Regions from separate parts of the Homo sapiens genome. Here region 2 is linked to region 1. The links are contacts of gene promoters, found by promoter capture Hi-C in blood cells and fetal thymus (Javierre and others, 2016). All regions are on one chromosome and are shown on one strand. Each heading gives the region's core, a stretch centred on a gene start or on the middle of the fragment in contact. The rest is flanking DNA. Distances are from core to core; before and after follow the strand shown. Region 1 holds the start of SVIP (small VCP interacting protein). Region 2 holds the start of RPS13 (ribosomal protein S13).

Region 1 (3,825 bases), core at 985-3,484:
AAGAAACAGTTTTATCATTGAATAAGCATTAAATCGATTGTGATTTCTATCAGAAGCAATCTACTAAAGAGTTTGCAATGAAAACATTCTTCACCATTTTTATATAGCCTGTCAGATACAGTCCACTACACACATGTTAATTGTTTTTATCTAAAAGAAATCTAAAGGAAAGAATAACACTTGTATCTCTTGACAAGCAGAAAGCTCCATCTTGAAGCCAAGTGCCTAGACAGTAAACTACCATGAAGACGGGGAGACAGGTGCCACTCTGGGATGTTTTCATTTCTAAGAGAAAGCCAATAGGCCTCCAAAGATATTCTGAGGATACAAAACTGGCAAGAGGCTTATTTAGGTTCTTTCTTTCTGATGCAAAACTGGCAAGAGGCTTATTTAGCCTCCCCTGCCCTCCCCTCCCCTCCCCTCCCCTCCTCTCTTTCTTTTCTTTCGACGCAATCTCTCTCTGTTGTGCAGGCTGGAGTGCAGTGGCGCGAGCTCGGCTCACTGCAACCTCCGCCTCCCGGGTTCAAACGATTCTCCCTGCTCAGCCTCCGGAGTAGCTGGGATTACAGGCGCCCACCACCATGCCTGGCGAAGTTTTGTATTTTTAATAGAGAAAGGGTTTCCCCACGTTGGTCAGGCTGGTCTTAAACTCCTGACCTCAGGTGATCCACCCACCTTGGCCTCCAAAAGTACAGGAGTAAGCCACCATGCCTGGCCTTTTTTTTTTTTTCATACATTTCAGTGAGACAGAGATAGCGCTTACAATTTCACGTTTTCTAAACACAATGCTAAAGAGGAGGTGGGTAGTTATCTTTCTCTTTTTGCAACAGAGAACCTTCACTTTTTCTTTATATATTTTTATTTACCCTTAGAAACGGCCCATGCAATCGAATAATAGTATTAAAAAAGCATCATCCCCTATTATTTAAGGAATAAACTACTGTTTCATTCAATAACATGGAAGAATTTAGAAAATATTATGGCTTTTGCAAAACATATTGTATATTTCATTTATGTAAAACTTAAAGACTATAGTGATATTAACATTTATGCAAAACTTAAAGACTAAAGTGATATTAAACAAATTAATAGTTTCCTGGATCTAGGTATAGGATAAAGTATTGAATGGGATTGGGTACAATAGAAGGTTTTTGGGTGATGGAAAACTTACATATCTTGAATGTGGTGATCACATGTTTGTTAAAACTCAGTGAACTCTACAATCAAAATAAGTGCATAATATTATATGTAAATTATACATCTATAAAAAATTAACCAGCAAGTATATCAAAAAGCCGACAATGGTTTCTGAGACGCTGTCACTATACATCCTACCTTTTTGTAATGTTTGAAAATTTTTACATAAGCAGAAATAACTAATAGAATGCAAAAATAAAATAAAATAAAATAAAAGCATTTGTGTGGAGACGAGATCAGTAACTTTAGTATCACCTGTGGGTTTACTGGAAATGAATCTCAGGTCCCACCTTATACTTACTAAATCAGCAAGTAAATTTTAACTAGTTGCCCAGCTGATTCTCATACTTATTAAAATTTGAGGAGAATCATTAAAACATTTCTCAGTAGATGAAACTTTATTATTTCTCTCGGAAGGATAAATGACTTCTAAATACCAGAAACTAGTGGAAATGTCAACTAATGCCACATTTATGACGCTAGATTCATCGTCATAATAATGGATTTTATATTCTGCCCTCTGTTCTGGAATAGCACTGTCACTAAGAAGGGAGAAAAGGGTGCTGATGTTTACTTGGAATTTTGGCTTTAATTTCTAGGACACCAGAGTCCCATCTCATAAAAAAAGGTAGCATGAACTACCCAGAGCTGTACCACTCATTCATTTATAAATGGTAAGGCAAGGTTAGCAGGAAGAGCTTTGGAACCGTAGCGAAGCTTTTCCATCCCTTCCCTGCATTGCTACCCACAGCAGGTGTTTCCTGGAACCTAGGCTTTGGCCACAAGCCCAGCGGTCGCGGGGCGGGGGTAGGCGGAGCTGTGGGTGAGGAAGGGGCAATGCCTTAAGGGGGCGCAGCTGAGCTGTGGGACTGGTTGGTGTCGCGAGAAGAGGGGGGCGTTGCCGCAGAGAGGCGAGGCGGGGCAGAGCTGCGGGGTGGGGGCGGGGCGTTGCCGCTGGGGCGGAGCCGAGCCAGTGGAGGGCGGTGGGGGCGGGGCAAGCGCGGAGGACCAGGGACCGGCTCCGGACCGCGCAGTTAGCGCCGCCTGGCCTGGGCCGGACCCGGTCAGGGTTCTCAAGCTGTCGTCCCTATGGGGCTGTGTTTTCCTTGTCCCGGGGAGTCCGCGCCTCCCACGCCGGACCTGGTGAGTAGAGCAGGTCCCTGCGTCCGCCGGGCCGCGCCTTGAGCACCTGTCCTCGGGTTGCGGGGCGGGCCGAGCCATTGTACCTGGTGGCGCAGGTCGAGAGCCCGCTGGGGGACCCTGCTAGCGAGGACGGGTGGACGCGTCAGGAGGGTCGTTGGGTCCTGTCAGAGCGACCTAGGCCGTCGCCTCCGTGTAGATCTCCACTTTTGTAACAAAAAGTTGTCGAAAGGCGGCTGTGGCGTCTTTCTACCTTCCACTGACTTTAGCTGCGCCGGATCTTCATAGGGCGCCGGCGCACGCAGAGGGCGTTACGCGTGGGACATTCCGGGGGATGTGGTAGATGGAATTCGGCGCGAAAAGACATTGCTTTCTCCGGGAGCTCTTTAGTCGTCTAGGAGATGTGCGTTTTCAACTGTGTCTACCATCTTTTAAAAGAAGGTGCTCGGAAAGTCGCTTATACGCCTGAGCTTTATCGGATATGTTTTTTTAATGATTTCTTTTTAGTATTTATCTCATTCTTTTACGTTCTCCCTTTAAAAGAATATGTAGTACAGAGTGTCCAATTTATAATGTCGTATTTAATAAAAATACTGGACACCCAGTTACATTCGAATTTCAGATATACAAGGAATACGTTTATAATATCGTTTTGTGCCATGCAATATTAGGGATCTAGTTCTACAAAAACATTACTCATTGCTTATCTGAAATTCAAATGTAGCTAGTGGGTGTGTGGTACAATACATGTACACTTTTTGTAGCTTTCTGTTAACAGTATCTTTACATTAGTACTCCTTACAGGGAGTTAACATAAACCTGTTTCTCTTCTCTAGCTAAAAATTAGTTGAAGAAAATGAAGTATTTTTGGGAAGTACATTAACTCTTCAGCTACTATAGATACTAAAAATTTAGTACTTATAAATTTGATGTGGGAAAGTTCAGCTTCTCTTTGTTGCTGCTGTTGTTTTAAATTAAGTTGATTTTGTTGTTCTGGCTGTCGATAAAATATAACATGTCAGATTTGTTAAGCCCTCCCCCCCATCCTCATACTATACCCTCTTCCCTTGATAACCACACGGCTCACTGCTTGGATGTCACTTTACCAGTGAAGCTTTTGCTGACCACGTTAAACAAAATATATTCCCCACAATACCACCCACCCATTCTCCCATTACTTATCTGCCATGCCATCTGACAGACGTTTACTTACTTCATTATATTTGTCTGTGCGCCCGCAATTGGAATTTGTTTCATTTGGGAGGAGACATTTATCTATGTTTTTACACTGTTGTATCCCAGCACCTAGAAAAAGGGCTTTATAATAAGTAGTACATGGTCTAGAAAAATAGCATTCACTGTTTTCTGATATGGAACAATACCTCTCATGAAATTACTCCAGTCCTTCCCTCCTACACACTGAGATTAGCCCACTTCATTTATTAACCTTTCCTAAAAACACCAGGTTACTTCAGACTCCATTTTAAC
Region 2 (3,998 bases), core at 1,231-3,730, 5.8 Mb after region 1:
GTCCAGGGATTGGATCTTAGGTGCATTGAGAAAGTATGGGAGGGATTTACACAGGGGAGCAATGAATTAATCTGCTTTATGTATTTAATGGATCACTCTGACTGCTAGGTGGAGAGTGGGTTGTGTTTAGAGTGGGGACGTGACCAGACGGTGTGGATACTACAGAGTTGCCCAGATAGGAGGTGATGGTGGCTGGGACTGAAGGTGGAAATGGGGCAAAGGGAACATATTCATGATACATTCTTGTGGTAGAGCTGGGATGACAGAGGGAAATCAGAGAAAAACGGAGATGCCTAGGTTTGTATTAAGTTTGAGCAAACAGGATCGTGTTTAACTGAAACAAAGGGGCATGGTTTGGGAATTGGAGTCATATTAAATTTGAGATACCTATTCCATATCTGAACTAAAAATGTAAAATTGGCTAATGATAAACTTTGCTAGAAAAAAACATTACCCAAATAGGGTACCCGATTTGACTAAAATTCCTAATGCTTTGGGAAAAGTTATTAATCAAATAGTGACAGATTATGGCTTTTTTGGGGGGGAGGGGTGTTGTTTTCTTGGAGAACTGACCCGTTTGTTGTTATAAAGGGTTCTCTCTTTATCCCTGATACTTTTTTTTTGAGACGGAGTCTCGCTCTGCCACCTAGGCTGGAGTGCAGTGGTGCGATCGTGGCTTACTGCAAGCTCCGCCTCCCGGGTTCACGCCATTCTCCTGCCTCAGCCTCCTGAGTAGCTGGGACTACAGGCGCCCGCCACCACGCCCGTCTAATTTTTTTGTATTTTTAGTAGAGACGGGGTTTCACCGTGTTAGCCAGGATGGTCTCGATCTCTTGATCTCGTGATCCGCCCGCCTCAGCCTCCCAAAGTGCTGGGATTACAGGCGTGAGCCACCGCGCCCGGCTATCCCTGATAACTTTATTTCAAATAGTGACAGGTTAAAAGTTAAGAGCGGATGTTTCAGTATCTAGTTTCCCAGCGTCTTGCCAGTTACTTTAAGCTTGTCGACAGGAGTTTGATTTCACTGACCTCCCTCCTTCCTAGAGCTATGCTTACTTTTTAAAATTTTAAGAAGCTGCTTCATTTGCCCATTCTTTCAACGCATTGTTGTGTACCGGCACTGAGTCAGTCTTTTTCTTTCTTTCCTTTTTTTTTTTTTTTTTTAAGACAGAGTCTTGCTCTGTTGCCCAGGCTGGCGCGCAGTGGTGCTATCTCGGCTCACCGCAATGTCCTTCCCGGCTCCAGAGATTCTCCACCTCAGCCTCCTTCGTAGCTGGAACCAAAGGCACGAGCGAGCACGCCCGGCTAATTCTTTGTATTTATAGAGAGGGGGTTTCGCCATGTTGCCCAGGCTAGGTCTGTCTTAAAAGAGCTTCTTCCGGCCAGGCGCGGTGGCTCACGCCTGTAATCCCAGCACTTTGGGAGGCCGAGGCGGGCGGATCACCTGAGGTCGGGAATTTAAGACCAGCCTGACCAACATGGAAAAACCCGTCTCTACTAAAAATACAAAATTAGCTGGAAGTGGTGGCGCATGCCTGTGATCCCAGCTATTCAGGAGGCTGAGGCAGGAGAATCGCTTGAAGCCGGGAGGCGGAGGGTGCGGCAAGCCGAGATCGCGCCATTGCACTCCAGCCTGCGAATCAAGAGCGAAACTCCGTCTCAAAAAAAAAAAAAAGCTTCTTCCTTGACGGTTCCCTTTTCCCATGAAATTCAAATGCTTCATTTTATCCCTCATCCTCTTGGCCTTTGCAGTCTTGCTCCCAAGGCTCTTCCCTGCCCGCCAACTCTCTCACTTGGGAACATAGCTCCGTAAGCCTCTGCCCAACCCTTCTCCCCGGCGAGCCCAGCGCCCCAGAGCCCTGCGCAGGGGAATTCGAGTGCGGAGGGCGGCAGGCATCCGTGGGGACCTGGTTCAACTCCTTAGACCGGTTCTTCACCGTCAGCGACTCTCCCCTGACAGATTAGGGTAGGATTTAGAAATGAGAAATGGAAGCGCTGGCTGGGCGGTAGCCGCTGCCATGGCTTCCCGTGTGGTCCTCATCACATGCTATTGTATCTGTTAATTTATTAGGCGCAGGGCCGACTCTGAGGGATCTAGTGCCAGGACAAAGCCAGGCACTGGTGAATGAGCAAACACCTGTGTATGGCTGCTTCTTCCAGCCCTACCTGCTCCATACCCACCCCCAGCGCAGCATTCGAATCTTTGTGATCTCGGCGTCCACAGGGAATTTCGACGCAAGCTGGCGTCAGCCTCAAATTCCCGCTCTGGCAACAAGGCTGACCAAAGACCGATGCATGCCGGGATGAGGCTGGATTGACGATCTCTTGCGACGCTGAAATGCATTTCGGGAGATGTAGTCACACAGACGGGCGGTGGCTGCGCAGCGTAGCTCCGCCTCCTGCGTGAGAGGAAGCGGGGACGTGTGAGGTCACTTCCTGCGTGTTGGGTGGCTTCCTGCGGCGTTTCCACTCTCGCTCTCCTTTCGTTGCCTGATCGCCGCCATCATGGGTCGCATGCATGCTCCCGGGTGAGCTCGGGGCATCAAGCCGGATTGCTGGGCGGGGGGTGGGAGGAAGACAGGGAGTGTGGGCAGCGGGCCGAGGGGATGATGTTCTGGGCTGCTCTGGCACTAGCCGCCACCTCACCTCGAGACTGCTTCTCTCCCCAGGAAGGGCCTGTCCCAGTCGGCTTTACCCTATCGACGCAGCGTCCCCACTGTAAGTAGCGCGCTGGGACCGGGGAGAATCCGGGGAGGGGGTTGGCATTTGTCTCGGGTGAAGCGACGCCAGGGTGAGGAACTTGCGTGTATGAGGAGCGCGGTTTTGCGGAAGGAGAGACCGCTGTTCTGCGGCGCCATTCCTGGGTTCTCATCCTAAGGCTGCTTTCTATTCCATAACAGTGGTTGAAGTTGACATCTGACGACGTGAAGGAGCAGATTTACAAACTGGCCAAGAAGGGCCTTACTCCTTCACAGATCGGTGAGTGTTTGTGTCTAACATAGCCTATTTCGCCTGTCCTCGTGTGACTTGTAGGATCTAGTAGGTGGTAAAGTTATTTTAAAAATAGCCAAAACTCTGGTCTCGCCACCGTGCTAGAGGCATCATTGTAAGCACTTCACATGTACTGATTTCGTTTAATTCTGACCACAATACTTTGAAATAAATCTTCATGGCTTTCACCCCAGTTTACAGTTGAGGAAGCAGAGGCACACTGCCGCTGGATACTAACCAGCCCCAAATCACACAGCTGTCAAGTGGAGGAGTTGGAATTGGCTAAGCAGAGTGCCTGACACAGTTCCTCACAGTTAGGTGTGGTTTGAATCTCAGCTGCGTGTGACTTCGTGCAAGTGGCTTCATTCAGCAAATGTTTACCTTCTATGTGCTGAACATGGTTCTGGGGCCTGAGAACATACTACTCTCCGACTCCCCCGCCCAAAAAAGCCAGCCGCAATGTGCCTGTAGTCCCAGATACTTGGGATGCAGAGGTGAGAGGATCACCAGAGCCTAGAAGTCCCAGGCTGCAGTGAGCTATGATGAAGCCACTGCACTCCTGGGTGACAGAGAGACCCCACCTCTTTTTTTTTTTTTTTTTGAGACAGTCTTGCTCTTGTCGCCCAGTCTGGAGTGCAGTGGCGCGATCTCAGCTCACTGCAACCTCCACCTCCTGGATTCAAGCGATTCTCCTGCCTCAGCCTCCCGAATAGGTGGGATTACAGGCGCCCGCCAGCAGGCCCAGCTAATTTGTGTGTTTTTGTTTGAGACCGATTCTCACTTTGTCACCCAGGCTGGAGTGCAGTGGTATGATCTCGGCTCACTGCAACCTCCGCCTCCTGGGTTCAAGCAAGCAATTCTCCTGCCTCTGCCTCTGGAGTAGCTGAGACTACAGGCCGCACCACCACGCCCGGCTAATTTTTGTATTTTTAGTAGAGACGAGGTTTCACCATGTTGGCCAGGCTGGTCTCAGACTCCTGACCTCAGATGATCCACTGCCTCGGCCT

Evidence for each region. Contacts are between HindIII fragments. The CHiCAGO score rates a contact against its expected background, and 5 or more counts as called.
Region 2: the fragment with the promoter of RPS13 here is called in contact with the fragment with the promoter of SVIP in region 1 in 1 of 17 cell types (non-activated CD4 T cells); the score reaches 6.0 in non-activated CD4 T cells.

Annotation. Positions count from the first base shown.
Region 1 is chr11:22,828,210-22,832,034 of GRCh38, reverse strand. It overlaps SVIP (small VCP interacting protein), which reads left to right and starts at 2,234. Exons shown (of 4, transcript NM_148893.3): 1 at 2,234-2,340. The coding sequence starts at 2,287. LINC02718 (long intergenic non-protein coding RNA 2718) reads right to left here and starts at 2,621. Exons shown (of 11, transcript NR_187210.1): 1 at 2,424-2,621. RefSeq lists a silencer at 2,110-2,179 and an enhancer at 2,330-2,639. The HindIII fragment of the contact is 1,537 bases long and covers 1,917-3,453 here.
Region 2 is chr11:17,076,149-17,080,146 of GRCh38, reverse strand. RPS13 (ribosomal protein S13) reads left to right here and starts at 2,480. Exons shown (of 6, transcript NM_001017.3): 1 at 2,480-2,528; 2 at 2,670-2,718; 3 at 2,901-2,979. The coding sequence starts at 2,506. RefSeq lists an enhancer at 2,247-2,446. The HindIII fragment of the contact is 8,959 bases long and covers 1,679-3,998 here.